2 separate regions of the Homo sapiens genome follow, and region 2 is linked to region 1. The links are contacts of gene promoters, found by promoter capture Hi-C in human tissues and cell types (Jung and others, 2019). All regions are on one chromosome and are shown on one strand. The core of a region is centred on a gene start or on the middle of the fragment in contact, and the rest is flanking DNA. Distances in the headings are between cores, read along the strand shown. Region 1 holds the start of GULP1 (GULP PTB domain containing engulfment adaptor 1). Region 2 has its middle 290 kb from the start of LINC01090.

Region 1 (6,826 bases), core at 2,686-5,185:
CTTGCCCTTGGAGAGATGTTATGACATTTGGTAGATAAACTTAGGAATAAACTTGGGAAGAATTGCTGGGCATGCCAGGCTCAACTACCTTTCTCTCTCTTTCATTCTTTGGAATAGAACTCAAAAAACAATTTAAATCCTTTTTCAAAGGCACTGTCTCCTTTCAGGTTAGAAGGAGGCCAGGAACTACGTTGACTGAGGCTGCTGTTTCAGTTCTTTGCTTTTGGATCTACCAATTCAAATCCGTTATCTGTCAATCATAGAGTAATATTTTGCTCTCATTTTTTTGGTCAATTTATTCCCCACCCAGGCATAAAGAAGGGATACTATTTATCCGGGTCTCTCAGAGGCCTCAACAAACCTTGGAGCATATAGAGAAAATGTGAGCAATAGGTACTTTTGGTGATGGGAATACAGGTGATATTTATTTCCCTTTTGCAGTTGCCCTCCTATTTTTTTTTCTTTTTTTGCAATGGTCATGTTTCATGTTCTTAATCAAGAAGATCAAAATAAAGCGATTCTTTCAGAATGACAGATAAAATGATAGAGGTTTGAAGGTAAATGTAACACAGTAACTTTGGAACCCAGAGCCCCTAGGAACTCATAGGATATTTGGCCACTGTTACACATGACAAACAGAAACATGACCCCCTTTCAAATCACATGACTGAAATTTGAATTTCAGTCTTGGTTTTCATTACAGTTTTTAAAAAGTTGTCAAATACTTTAAATGTTGGTTTTGCAGAAATATAGGGCTAAACAACCAGCATATTTTTTGTGTGCTTTTGCAATAATCAGAAATAAAATTGGTTTTCTTAAGGTAAGTAACAGGTCGTTTTTTTGTCTTAGCCAAAGTTCCCTTAGTTAGGGTAAGAGAAACTTAATTCTGGTTTGAGCAAGAAAATTAATTTAAAAATACTGGAGGCCAGGCGTGGTGGCTCACACCTGTAATCCCAGCACTTTGGCAGGCCGAGGCGGGTGGATCACGAGGTCAGGAGATTGAGACCATCCTGGCTAGCAGAGTGAAATCTTGTCTCTACTAAAAATACAAAAAAAAAAAAAAAAAAAAAAAAAAATAGCCGGGCATGGTGGCGGCCGCCTGTAGTCCCAGCTACTCGGGCGGCTGAGGAAGGAGAACGGTGTGAACACGGAGGCGGAGCTTGCAGTGAGCCAAGATCGCACCACTGCACTCCAGCCTGGGCGACAAAGCAAGACTCCGCCTCAAAAAAAAAAAATAAATAAATAAATAAAAATAAAAATTACTGGAAAGCTGCTGAGTTTCTATCAGGGTCTATATGAACCTATGATGAATGTGAAGAACTTTCAAATGGAAATCTGAGGTATTTGCAGTAGGTAAAATTAGGCGTATTTGTCATCGTAGTGCCCTGCTAGGCTTCTGCAACCCTTTTCTTTGGCATCTCCCTTCTTCACTTCCTGGGGCATGCTATAAATTTGTTTTAAAATCTTGTTCCATTTGGTTCTATTGTTTTTAAAAACTTGGTTCTGACACTCTTGAGATTTTTATACCTCTAAGCCATTTCACAAAGAAGATCATATCAAAAGTCAGGTTATAAAAATTACAAAGCAATAGCAAGTTTAAAGACTTTAAACAGTGGGAGAAAATATAAAAGTGAGTAATCTTTAGCACTGTATGTAACGATTGGAAAAAGACAGTTATGAGGACTCATCTATCTTCATTTATCCATTCATGATGGATGTGCTTTGTAGCCATATTTTTTTTTCCCTCTTTAGGATCTTCCAAGTCTTATGGATAGGAAAGACAGATCTCTAAAGAGGCTATGATATGCCTTTAGGAAACTGAGGATGAGGCCGGAGTAGTAAATAACTCTTACTTAGAAGGAGTATATAGGGTCTCATCCCTGAGAACATGGGAGTTAGTTATGTAAATGTTCAGATGATTTTCAACATTGTATATGGTAAGGAAGAATTTTTTAAAAAGACCTTCTTACAGGTACTAGAGGCAAATGAATGAGAAATAAGTACATGCTATGGGATTTTCCATTATTTCACAGGATGGAAAGTTTGATCTCTGTAGCCTGATTTTGTTCTTTGGCCTTGAACTTGTTCAAGTTGAATTGTGTGTCCTGAACACTGATCTAGTTGTTCACAAACTAGGGTCAGCCAACTGTAGTGGTATGTTGATGTATTCTTGGGAATCGAGAGTTATTATAATCTTTTAATATTATGGCTAAAAAACCCAAAATATCTATGTGTAAATATATAATGTAAGCATGGATTCGTTCATCTCATCAACCTCCTTATTCCTAAATACTGGACTACCATTTGTTTTATTTTTATAATCACATTGATACCAAGTGATCATCTAAATGACATTATTTAATTTTTAATGATTGTTCATAAATTAATTGCTTAAGAGTTATTTACAGAAAAAAACTAGCATTTGTCCTGAGATTAATATTTTTAATATAATTATTTTTATGTGTGCTTGACTATTGTGATAAAGAGAAAAACAGTTAAAAGAGGACCCCAGCCAAGTTATTATGAGGACTGATTTCTGATATTAGCTTTAGTACCTCCAAACCATGAGATTTGGGGAAAGTCACTTAAGAGCCCTAGACTTCAGTTACCTTGTATTTAAAATAAGGGAGTTCAGCTGGAACTAGTTAATCTGTAAACATAGTTTCCATTTCAAAAATTGTGAAATGATGCCTTTTTAAATGGAAAAAGCATTAAGGAGAAGAAAACTGATTCAGTTACAGGGTCTTTGGGGGAAAATTTCTAGCACCACCCTCTCTCCTAATTACAGTAAAACATGGTGGGATATAAGAACCAAATATTTATTGAGTATTTTCTCTGCGCCTATCACAACTCTATTTTAACTCCTGTAAATGTGACTGTGACTCCGTGAGCTAGATTATAGAATTCCTGTTGACAGTTATAATTGGTAGGCACAGAAAGCGTAAAGATGGAGTTTGGAATGGAATCTGGCCTGTCTGACTCTAAGCCCTGGATCCACTGTAATACATTATAACTGCTAGCTTTGCAAAATGCCTTTTTCCTTTTCTCATCTATTTTCACACTCAAACTAAAATTTAGTAAACTAAATTCTGAGCAGCAGAAAAAATTTTAGTAAAGGTCCTCTCATCCTTGAAGAACTTCTTATATAAGGATACTCCTTCTTGCTCCCTTTCCCACGCAGAACTTTACCAAAGGTCAGTAAGAATGGGCTGTTGTGTTTTCTCTCAAATCCTATACAGAAGTCCTTAATTCCGAGGTAAACATCTGAATGGAACAAATGAGTATGATCTGGGGGTTAAGGCAATTTTCAAGTGTGTGTATGTGTGTGTCTGTTTTAAGGCATAACAAAGTCCAGAGATTAAGGCCGAGTTAAAAAACAAATGAGGACAAACCAATGAGGACAAACCAGTCCGCTGAGGTGCGGCCAGAGCAGCAGCAACTGTGGCTGCTTTCTTGATAAAGGCTGTGAAGACGGCACGTTTTACTCTTATTCGTGTATTTCTTTTGACACTTTACCCCTCTATGAAGCCTCAGAGGTGTTTTAAAATTGTGTTAGGAAACACACAGAGATAAGAAAAGGCAAATGGTCCTGATCTAGTGTCTCAGGGAAGAGGCTGGAAAGGAAACGCGGCGCGAGTGGGGTGGGAGAGGGGGCCTGTGGTTTTGCTTCTGTCCGGGCTGAAGACTGAGTAAGGTAGGGCCCCTCCTTCTGCGGATGGGTTTCTCTCTCATTCCACCCTCCACCCACCTCCGGTTCCGCGTGCACGCGCGAGATAGTCCAGTGGGCCCACAGATAACGACCATCAGAGATTAAAGAAGGAAAGTCAGCGAGCTTGAACACAGGCGTCCCGTGTGGAAATGTCCAAGGAGACCGCCAGAAGTGCGCAAGCCGGAGTCGGCTAGAGTTTCCTTCTCACCGAGAGGGGGAGCCCGGCGTTCCCGGCCGGGAGCGACCCGGAGTCCCCAGCCCCGCGTCCCAGCTGCCGCCAGCGCCAGTTTTGGATTCGGCGGATTAGGAAGAGGAGGGAGGGGGGAGAGAGCGCGAAGAGGGAGGGGACCGAAGCTGGAGGGTCCCGAGTCCAGCGCCGTGTTGGCGTAGAGAAACTTTCCCTCTCGGCCTCGGAGACGGCGCCCCGGCCGTGCCGGAGTGGAGATCGCCAGGCTCGGAGGAACCGGCAGCTCTCCACGCCCCTGCCCGAAGCCTGACCCGACTGCCTCTCTCAGTGAGGTACGGAGATTTATCTAGGCTCTTCCCTGGCTGCGAACCCAGGCTCCCTCCAGGTAGCGTGGAATCGCTTAGAAGCTGATATCCCGAGGGGCGGTGGGGGTGGACAGCTCCGGCCACCAGTGCCCGGGAAGGAGGGCGCGGGGCTGCGCGTAGCCGCTGGCCAGCAGGTTGTAAAAAATTAGGACAGCTAAATGCTCAGGGAGTCGTCCAGCACTAAAGGAGGCTAAGACCTGTTGACGCCTGCTATGGCAGCGCTTGAGAAATGACTGGGGGAGTCCAGCGAGGTCGGGGACGCAGCGGTCTCCGGGCTCCAGAAACCTCCTTAGCCTTTTGTGGTAACTTTGGTCCGGCGGCGGGGGGCCGGTGAGCAGGAACTGGAGGGAGGCGGTGGGGAAACCGTGGATCCGTCCGGCTGAGGGTGCGTGGATCAGACTGGGCTGAGCAGGCAAGTCATCGTCGGGTCACAGCGAGGCGACCCAGGAGCGAACTTCCAGGGCAGCCTCCCTTTTGTTGGCGCTGGGAGAGAATGTGGGCATGGGGGTGGGGAGGCGCGAAGCTCCGAGGCCGGGCCGCGGATACTTTAAAGCTCAGAGCTGGGAGGGCCCAAAGGAAGGGGCGGCGTCCACATGGTTACCCTTCTGCTGCGCGGGTCAAGTAGCTTCTTCTGGAGGGCGCAAGGCGCGGCGGGGGTGATGAGCCCTTGGGTTCTCGCTCCGACTGCTAAATTCGCTTGGCCGGGTCCACCTTCTCGTGGCCTCACTCGCCACACGGATCAGAATCCGGAGCAGGCAGTTCTCTCTATTCTGAGGCTCCTGCGGCTGCCGCGCTGACTTCCCTGTGTGCGGGAGGGAACTCTGGGCAGGCTGGTTTTCTTGGAATGTGTTTACGATGTTGAATGGGACTTGAACAGGAAGCTGGACGCTGCAGCTGGAACTAGCGTGCCAAGGTAGAGTAAGGAAGACTTAGCTGGTGTTGGGCTTGGCGGGTCCACTTGGTACGCTGGGCAAACTCCAAGTAAGTGAGGGCTGGCAGTCAAGGTACCCCTCCCTAGGTCCTAGTAGTGTTTCCCAACTGAGCTCGCCTTACTCATTTGCAATCAGACATTTTACATGCACTATTTCAATCTGCAAGTTTGACAAAGTGTAATGCAGTCAATTAGGAAGGATTTAATAAATTTATTTTGTGCCTGCTTTTAAAATACGTTACACCAACATTTGAGAATAAAAAGTTACGGAGAATGTTCAAGTCATGACTGATTTCTAGGACTAGCAGGAGACAATACTGATGATTTTGTGTCTGTATTACAAAATGGGTGATTAGGTGCTAAAGTAAGGGAGATTATTAGACAGAGTGAATGTGAGGAAGTGGAAAACTTTCAGAGGAATTGGAAATTCTTCAAATTTGCAAATTGCTCCCTTTCTCTGCCAGTCTTTCCCTTTTCCCCCCATATGAACAAGTAGCCTTGGCTGGAAAACCCACAAATTGGGAGAGTGCAGTCGCTGGTGACTACAGGCTTTGCTGGAAACAGCAGACAGGCTAAGGTACTGCCCCACTGCATAATTAAAGGTCTCCTTGAGCTGTCCAGGAGTGTTTTCCAAGTTTTTACGACTGACAAGGAAAAAAAGAGAGGAACCTGGCCGGCAGCCAAACTAGACTGAGCTCAGTAGCCAGGCATGAAAGAGACTGGGCAAGTTGCAGGGGCTAATTGGAAAGGGGCTGTCGGTTGCACTTGGGGTTTAAACAAGAGGTTTCTTTTGCAATGAGAATTTTTAGGTGGCTAAGATCAGTCTTCTTGGCAAAAAAATAAACTAAGCATAGAGTGCAGTTGGATATGACCGAGGAAATTACAAAAAGGGCTCCAGGAGCAAAGTCTGAACTTTCCTTATCAGTGTTGCAGTGGAATAGCTGGGGGCCTGATGCTGTTTGTGCTGATCATACTTTGCAAATGCCCACACTTTGTTGCTGTTTGTCTCCTTGGACGAGGTTTGCTGCAACTTCAATTCCTTGACTTCGGCCTTACTTTGTTTTCATAGCAGCAAGAATTGAAGACTTAAGGGTTTGAGCAGATGGTTTTCTACCTAAATTGAATAATTCAATTACGTATTCTCAGCTAGCATGGATTTGGGTCATGGAATTAAAGTAGAAACGTATCCGGCATGACTTCTTTGTGCTTATCAAAAGTGATCCTGATAAACAGATCTTGCTCTTTCATGTAAAGAAGTAAAAGGTGAGATGATCTCAGTATTTCACACATTTGCCCTTTACTGCTTCCTAATTCCAAACCAGCTAGGAACTCAAAGCCTTAACTGCAATTCAGACTCTTCTTTGTGTATTAAAGTTGTGTATGTTTCATCTCTCTTTTTTTTTTCTTCAGAGAGGTGGGTTGTAGGTTTACTATTGTGGGCTTAGGGGTTAAATGGTTAAAACAAACAAACAAACAAACAAACTAATGTGGTTTATATTTCCTCTGTATTTAAGAGTTTGAGATTGTGAATATTAGCCTGCTTTCTGAGACTCACTTTGTGAATCACCCTCAGCCAAATGTTTTCCCTGACTATGATTTCAGTTTTTCCACTTGCAAAGTAAAGAAACTTTCCT
Region 2 (6,826 bases), core at 2,236-4,735, 300 kb before region 1:
AAGAGAATGATCTGACTAGAAACAACTTCAAGGATTGCCAGGTAGAAATGTGGACAGAGCTCTGGCTGGGCTGGAAATCATGAATTTGTGAAGGCACCACACAATTTTAATGTCTCCTTTAAACAGCACTTCACAGCACTAAGCTGATGGATGGATTCAATCAAAGATGGGGCTTTGTATTAGAAAATAAGTGTTAGAATATAATTGTTGTTATTGCATATTAAATATTTAAATTATATTTCCCAAAGATCTCTTTGGAAAGGTAAAAGAAACAAGCCATATAAAAACCCTGTAGTTAATAGTATTGATAGGCCTTAGTATTTATTGGAATCTCAGAAAATTTTAAATAAATCAATAGCAAATAATTAGGAAAACCCCATAAGATTAATTTAAAAAGATAAGTCTCGGTAGTTAAAATCTGACGTACTGTCTGTTAAAAATTAAAACATGTATTAAAGTCTCTACAGAAGGAAGCCAGTATTTACTTCCAAAGGCACAATGAGAGAGTTTGCAGGCTGCTTTAGAAACAATGGTCATATGCAGTGACTTCATGAGTGACAGTCCCAGAACTGACAAATGTATCCACACAAATAATTTTTAATATGCACTTTTCAAAAAAGAAAAATCTAATTAGTGTGAAATACTTATAAATGTCTTCCTGCCACCCACCCCGACCCACACACACACACCGCCCCTGCTGTCCCAAAGACAGCAGATCCGAAGCATTGTTAGCATTCCTCTCCCACTTGCAGAAACAAAATAGTGTGTAGAGATTCATGCTGTGAACTTTTTCCCATGAAGCAGTATGGGAACTTAACAGGAAAACTGTACAAAACCGCAGACCCTTTAAAAGAAACAGCAGGCTGCAGCCTACATTGTGAGCCAGGCAGAAAACTGTGAGTCCCCAGAGTATGAGCAGGGAGAGACTGTGTCTGGGATACACACCCCCACTGGGGAACCTGGCAATCCAAGCCACAGGGGAAAGCCTTAACCCTACCCAGCACTGGAACTAATTTACTGAAAAGTGGGAGTGTATGAGAAGGAGTGGCATTGGGATGTACTTTGCATGCACTCCCAGCCTCTCCAGGAACAGTGAGAAGCCATTCCTGATCCTGCCTCACACGGTACCTCCCAGAAGTCGGCTAGCTCACTGAGGCAAGACTTGGTGAGAAGCCAAGTGCAGTGGCTCACACCTGTAATCCCAGCACTTTGGGAGGCCCAGGTGGGCTGATGCTTGAATTCAGGAGTTCAGCCTTGGCAATGCGGCAAAACCCTGTCTCTACCAAAAAAAAAAAAAAAAAATACAAAAATTATCTGGGTGTTCTAGTAAGTGCCTGTAGTCCCAACTACTTGGGAGGCTGAGGTGGGAGGATCACTTGAACTTGGAGGCAGAGGTTGCAGTGAACTCTGTCTCAAAAAAAAAAAAGTTAGTGAGAGAAGCTCCCAACTGAGATTCATGATATAATCTTGAATGGGGGCTAACCCCCTTAGCCAAAACCAAGGAGCAAGTGTGAAGTGTGCAATATATAGCCACAGTGAGGGATCTGGGCACCGTGCTTCAGGGGCATAAGGGAAGTGGTGTGGCCCAAGAGCCATGATTTCTGTTTCAATGAGGAAGCCTCGTGGCCTGGGGCAGCTTGGGGTTCTAAGCACAGGCTGCCTGGACCCCAGCTAGCTGCTGCTAGTGGATCACTGTGGGTTCCATTAGCACTATGCACTCACCAAGTGCATAGGAGCTGGGTGGAGCTTACTGCTGCCTGCTACCCTCCATTCCACATGAGGATTCTTTTGTGCAGCAGAGGCAGCGGCGCTCCTCCTTGGAACATTATCTCAGTAGCCAGAGAACTGCCCTCTGATGCCACTGGGGCCTCTGCTTGCTCCTGCATGTGTGAAGCCAGAATATGAACTTGCCTAACCCAACCCCCACCTGGCTTTGCCCCTCCACTCATCACAGTAGCTTAACACAAAGGACAGGGACTTTTTGAAGCTCTATGGCCCCACCCATTGCCTGAGACACCAGAGTACCTCCCGTGTGTAACATAGGGCAAGCACAAATCCTAATGCTACTACCACAGCTGGTGCTCTTTTGCAAGTGCCATCTCCTGGCTGGAAGCCAACCAGCACAGTTCATTATAGCATCTGCAGGCAGAATGACACAGTACCAAGAAGGGAGGAAGCTTTTGCATGACCTCAGCTATCAACACTGCCTGCATCACCCTGGCTAATCAGGAAGTCTTGAGTCTGTCCATACAACCAGCTCATTACTACTACAACTAGCATTTGAGAAAGCCAATATACTAAGGCTATTTATAACCAAGGAAATTTCACAGAGTCTGTGTCACTCACCTGCCACCCTCATCAGAGCTGGCGCTGGTACTCAGTGCTGGGAGATTAGAGAACAAGTCACATCACTGGATTCCTTGCAGAAATTCCCAGCCTAAAGTGTGGCAGCTTCACTGGGTAGCAAGACCCAGAGGAGCAGCAAGATTCACAGTAGTCTGTCCCTTAGTGTGACAGGAGTTATTAAGAAATTATTTTAGGCAGATAGAGAGGAAAAGGGGTCCTTGGAAAGTTTTTGTCTCTTTTAAAGCAGCTCCAGAAATGTTTCTTGTTTAGCAGGAAAGCCCCAGATCTTAGAGCCTGGCAGCAAGCTTTGATATGCAAATGCTGGGCATTAGAAACTCGGTCCACCAAAACATGGCAATTCCCATGCTCTTCTCCCTGCCCTTGCCCCCACAAGTGCCTGGCAACATGGCCACCCTGACATATCTCTATACGTGTAGAACATCATGGTGCCCCACATTTGCATACTAGAAGGCTAGGGTGTGAGAGCGAGGTTTTTCGCGCACTACATGAGTGACATGCCTGGTCAAACCAATCCCCAGAGCCCTATGCAAATCAGATACCACCTCCTCCAGCCTACTCATATAAGCAGCCACTTTTCCGTGGCACAGGGAGTCTCCTCTCAGCCTTGGAGCCCTCCTCCTTATGTCTCTGTACAGGGGAGCTTCTTCCTTCTTTCTTCTCCCTCCCTTCTTGCCTATTAAACTCTCTACTCCTTAAAACCACTCCACGTGTGTCCGTGTGGCCTTATCTAATTCGGCATGAGACAAGAGCCCTGGTGTTCCTCCACTCATCAGAGCCGTATCATCAGATCCCCTACTCCTAAGGGAAGGGGGGGTGCACCTCATCAAAGGAGTACCTTGTGAGACAAAATAATTCAGACTGCAGACCTTGAGTTTCCTAACTTTACGCTTGTGGAAAATTTCTTTCAGCAGAGACACAGGTGTGCTGGTGGGCCTAGTGGGGAAAGTCTATGACTGTATCTCCAGTGGTCAGGCAGCCCTGGTACTCATGAAGGGTTTTGAAGAAGGGAATTTATTCTCCTCCTCACTCACCACTGCAGACACACAGAGTTTTGACATAGGTGCACCCATAGACAGACTCTCTGGAACACTTCAGGGTGACTACATCCCCACAGGAGGAGTGTACTCTAGGTTCAGGCTTGCATGAGGAGTAGAGTCACAATCTCTCTCTACACCAAACATCAGCATTCCTGCAGCTGAAAAGAGGTGCCTGTCTCATCTGAATAACCAGAACACTGGGTCAGAAGTGTGACTGTGAGGTGGAAAGCTTTCCTTCTGGTGTGGTAGGGGAGCTGAGATGGCTCCCTCTCTTCTCCCTGTAAAGACCTCAGTGTGTTTAACTGAGAACTCTCCTGGCTGTTTCTGTCAAGGCTGGGACCTCTGCCCACAATTGGGGTATTGTGTTTATCCACTTGCTTCAGCTGCAAGCAGTTTTTACCTACAGACACTTCTTACTGGGCCGAAACTTGAACTGTTCAACCCAGTGAGTAGAATACTGGAAGAATGAATGAATGAATGAATGTATGAATGAGTGAATGAATGAATGAATTTCACACCACTGGGAAATAAGATAAGCTTCATGAGACCTCTGTTATTCTGGTCCCATGGAAGACAGTGAACCTGTTTCACACACCAAGTATACTGCTACTACAACCATCACTGGAGAAAGCCATTATACATAGACTGTCTGTAACCAAAGATTTCATATGCAGTCTTCATTATTGAAAGCACTCAGAGGCAAATTATGTTACAATAAACCATAATCATTAAAGTTATATTCTCAAAGGGAAAAAAATTAAAAAATACAATTATCAAATATAAATTCAAAAATATTTGGAAGAAGTAAGAAGAAACCAGAAAAAGAATTCTGGCAATATGACAAGGCAGGGTTCTATGACATCCCCAAAAGATCACAGTAGCTCTCCAGCAATGGATCCAAACCAAGATGAGCTCTTTGCAATACTAGATAAAGAAATCAAAAGGTTGATCATTAAGTTACTCAAGGAGATACAGGAGAAAGGTAGACACCAACATAAACAAATTTTTAAAAATGATTCAGAATATGAATGAAAAAGTTTCTAAAGAGATAGATATTTTAAAGAAAAACCAACCAGAACTTCTGGCAATCAAAGAAACACTTAGGGAATCCCAGAATGCAGCGGAAAGTTTCAACAATAGACTAGATCAAGTAGAAGAAAGAATTTCAGAGCTCAAAGACAAGGCTTTCAAATTAACCCAAGCAGACCAAAATTAGGAAAAAAGAATTAAGAAAAATATTAACAAAGCCTTCAAGAAATATGAGATTATGTAAAATGGCCAAACCTAAGAATCACTGGTGCTCTTGAGGGAGAAGGAAAAGCAAAACATTTGGAGAACTTATTTGAGAAAATAATTGAGGGAAACTTTCATGGCTCAAATAAATGAAACTCAAAGAACTCCTGGCAGTTCATTGCAAAAAAGACATCACCGAGGCATACAGTTATCAGATTATTTAAAGTCAATGTGAAAGAAAGAATTCTAAGCGACATGAGACAGAAGCATCAGGTAACCAATAAAATAAAACCTATCAGACTCAGAGCAGACTTTTCAGCAGAAACCTTATAAGCTAATAGGGATTGAGGTCCTATCTTTAGTCTCCTTAAACAGAAAAATAGCCAAGAATTTTGTATCCTCCAAAATTAAGTTACATAAATGAAGGAGAAATAAACACTTTTTCAGATAAGCAAATGCTGAGGGAGTTTGTCACTACCAGATCAGCCCTACAAGCAATGCTAAAAGGAGTTCTAAATCTTGAAACAAAATATTGATATGCACCAGAATAGAAACTCTTAAAAGCATAATATTCACAGGGCTTATAAAACAATAACACAATGAAGGAAACAAAGTAACTAGGTAACAATCAACATGTTGACTGTCACAGTAACTTACTTCTCAATATTAACATTGAATGTAAATAGCCTAAATGCTCCCCTTAAAAAATACAGATTGGCAGAATGGATAAAAAAAAAAATCACAAACCAAATATCTACTGTCTTCAAAACACACATCTGACTGGTAAGAAATTTTATAGACTCAAGGTAAAGGGATGGAAAAAGAGATTCCATACAAATGGAAACCAAAGCAGGAGTAGCTATGATTACATCAGATAAAACGGACTTTAAAGCAACAACAGTAAAAAAAAAAAAAAAAAGACAAAGAAGGTAATTATCTAATGATACAAAAAGATCAATTCAACAAGAAGGTATAACAATCCTAAATATATATGCATCTAATTACGGAGCTCCCAAATTTATAAAACAATTACTACTAGACCTAAGAAAAGAGACAAAAAAGAACACAGTAACAGTGCGGGACTTCAACACTCCACTGACAGCAATAGACAGATCATTGAGGGAAAAAGTAAACAGAGACACTGGATTTAAACTATATTCTAGAGCAAATAGACCTAACAGATATTTACAAAATATTCTATCCAAGAACTGCAGAATATACCTTCTTTTCATCAGCACATAAAGCATTCTCCAAGATAGACTATATCACAGGCTACAAAAAAAGACTTAATAAATTTTTAAAATCAAAATTATGTCAAGTATCTTCTCAGACAACAACAGAATAAAACTAGAAATTAATTCCAAAAGAACCCATCAAAACTATACAAATACATAGAAATTAAGCAATATGCTCCTGAATGATTTTTGGGTTAACATGAAATCAGGATGGACATTTTAAAATTCTTTGAAATATGTGATAACAAACAGTGATACAAATTATCAAAACTTCTGGATTACAGCAAAAGCAGTGAAAAGAGGAAAGTGGTTAGTGCTAATGCCTACATCAAAAAGCCTGAAAGACAACAAATTAACAACCTAACCTCACGCCTCAAGGAACTAGAAGAACAGAACAAACTAAACCCAAATCTAGCAGAAGAAAATAATAACAAAGATCAGAGCAAAACTAAATAAAATTGAAAACAAAAAAAAATACAAAAGACCAATGAAATGAAAAGTTGGTTTTTTGAAAAGATAAACAAAATCAATAGACCACTGGATACATTAACCAAAAAAAGATTCAAATAAGCTCAATAGAAATGAAAATGGAGACATTACAACTGACACTGCAGAAATGCAAAAGCTCATTTGAGACTACTGCGAACACCTCTATGCCCAAAACTAGAAAATCTAGAGGAAATGGATAAATTCCTGGAAACATACACTCCTCCTAGCTTGAATCAGGAAGAAATAGGAATCCTGAACAGACCAGTAAAAAGCAATGATATTGAATCAATAATAAAAAACTTGCCAACAAAAACAGACTGATTCACAGCCAAATTAAACCAGACATTCAAAGAAAAATTGGTACCAATTCTACTAAAACTATTACAAAAGACTGAGAAAGGAGAGAATCCTCCCTAATTTTGTATGAAGCCAGTATCACCATGATACTAAAGCCAGAAAAGGGCA

Evidence for each region. Contacts are between HindIII fragments. The study calls those that stand out against the background at their distance.
Region 2: a contact is called between a fragment that was not itself captured here and the fragment with the promoter of GULP1 in region 1, in 1 of the 25 tissues and cell types used here (aorta).

The regions. Positions count from the first base shown.
Region 1 is chr2:188,287,939-188,294,764 of GRCh38, forward strand. GULP1 (GULP PTB domain containing engulfment adaptor 1) reads left to right here and starts at 3,936. Exons shown (of 12, transcript NM_016315.4): 1 at 3,936-4,228. RefSeq lists an enhancer at 5,788-6,671. The HindIII fragment of the contact is 13,352 bases long and covers 1-6,826 here.
Region 2 is chr2:187,992,900-187,999,725 of GRCh38, forward strand. No RefSeq gene overlaps it. Among named protein-coding and RNA genes, the nearest start is that of LINC01090, 290 kb to the right of the region's middle. The HindIII fragment of the contact is 5,266 bases long and covers 853-6,118 here.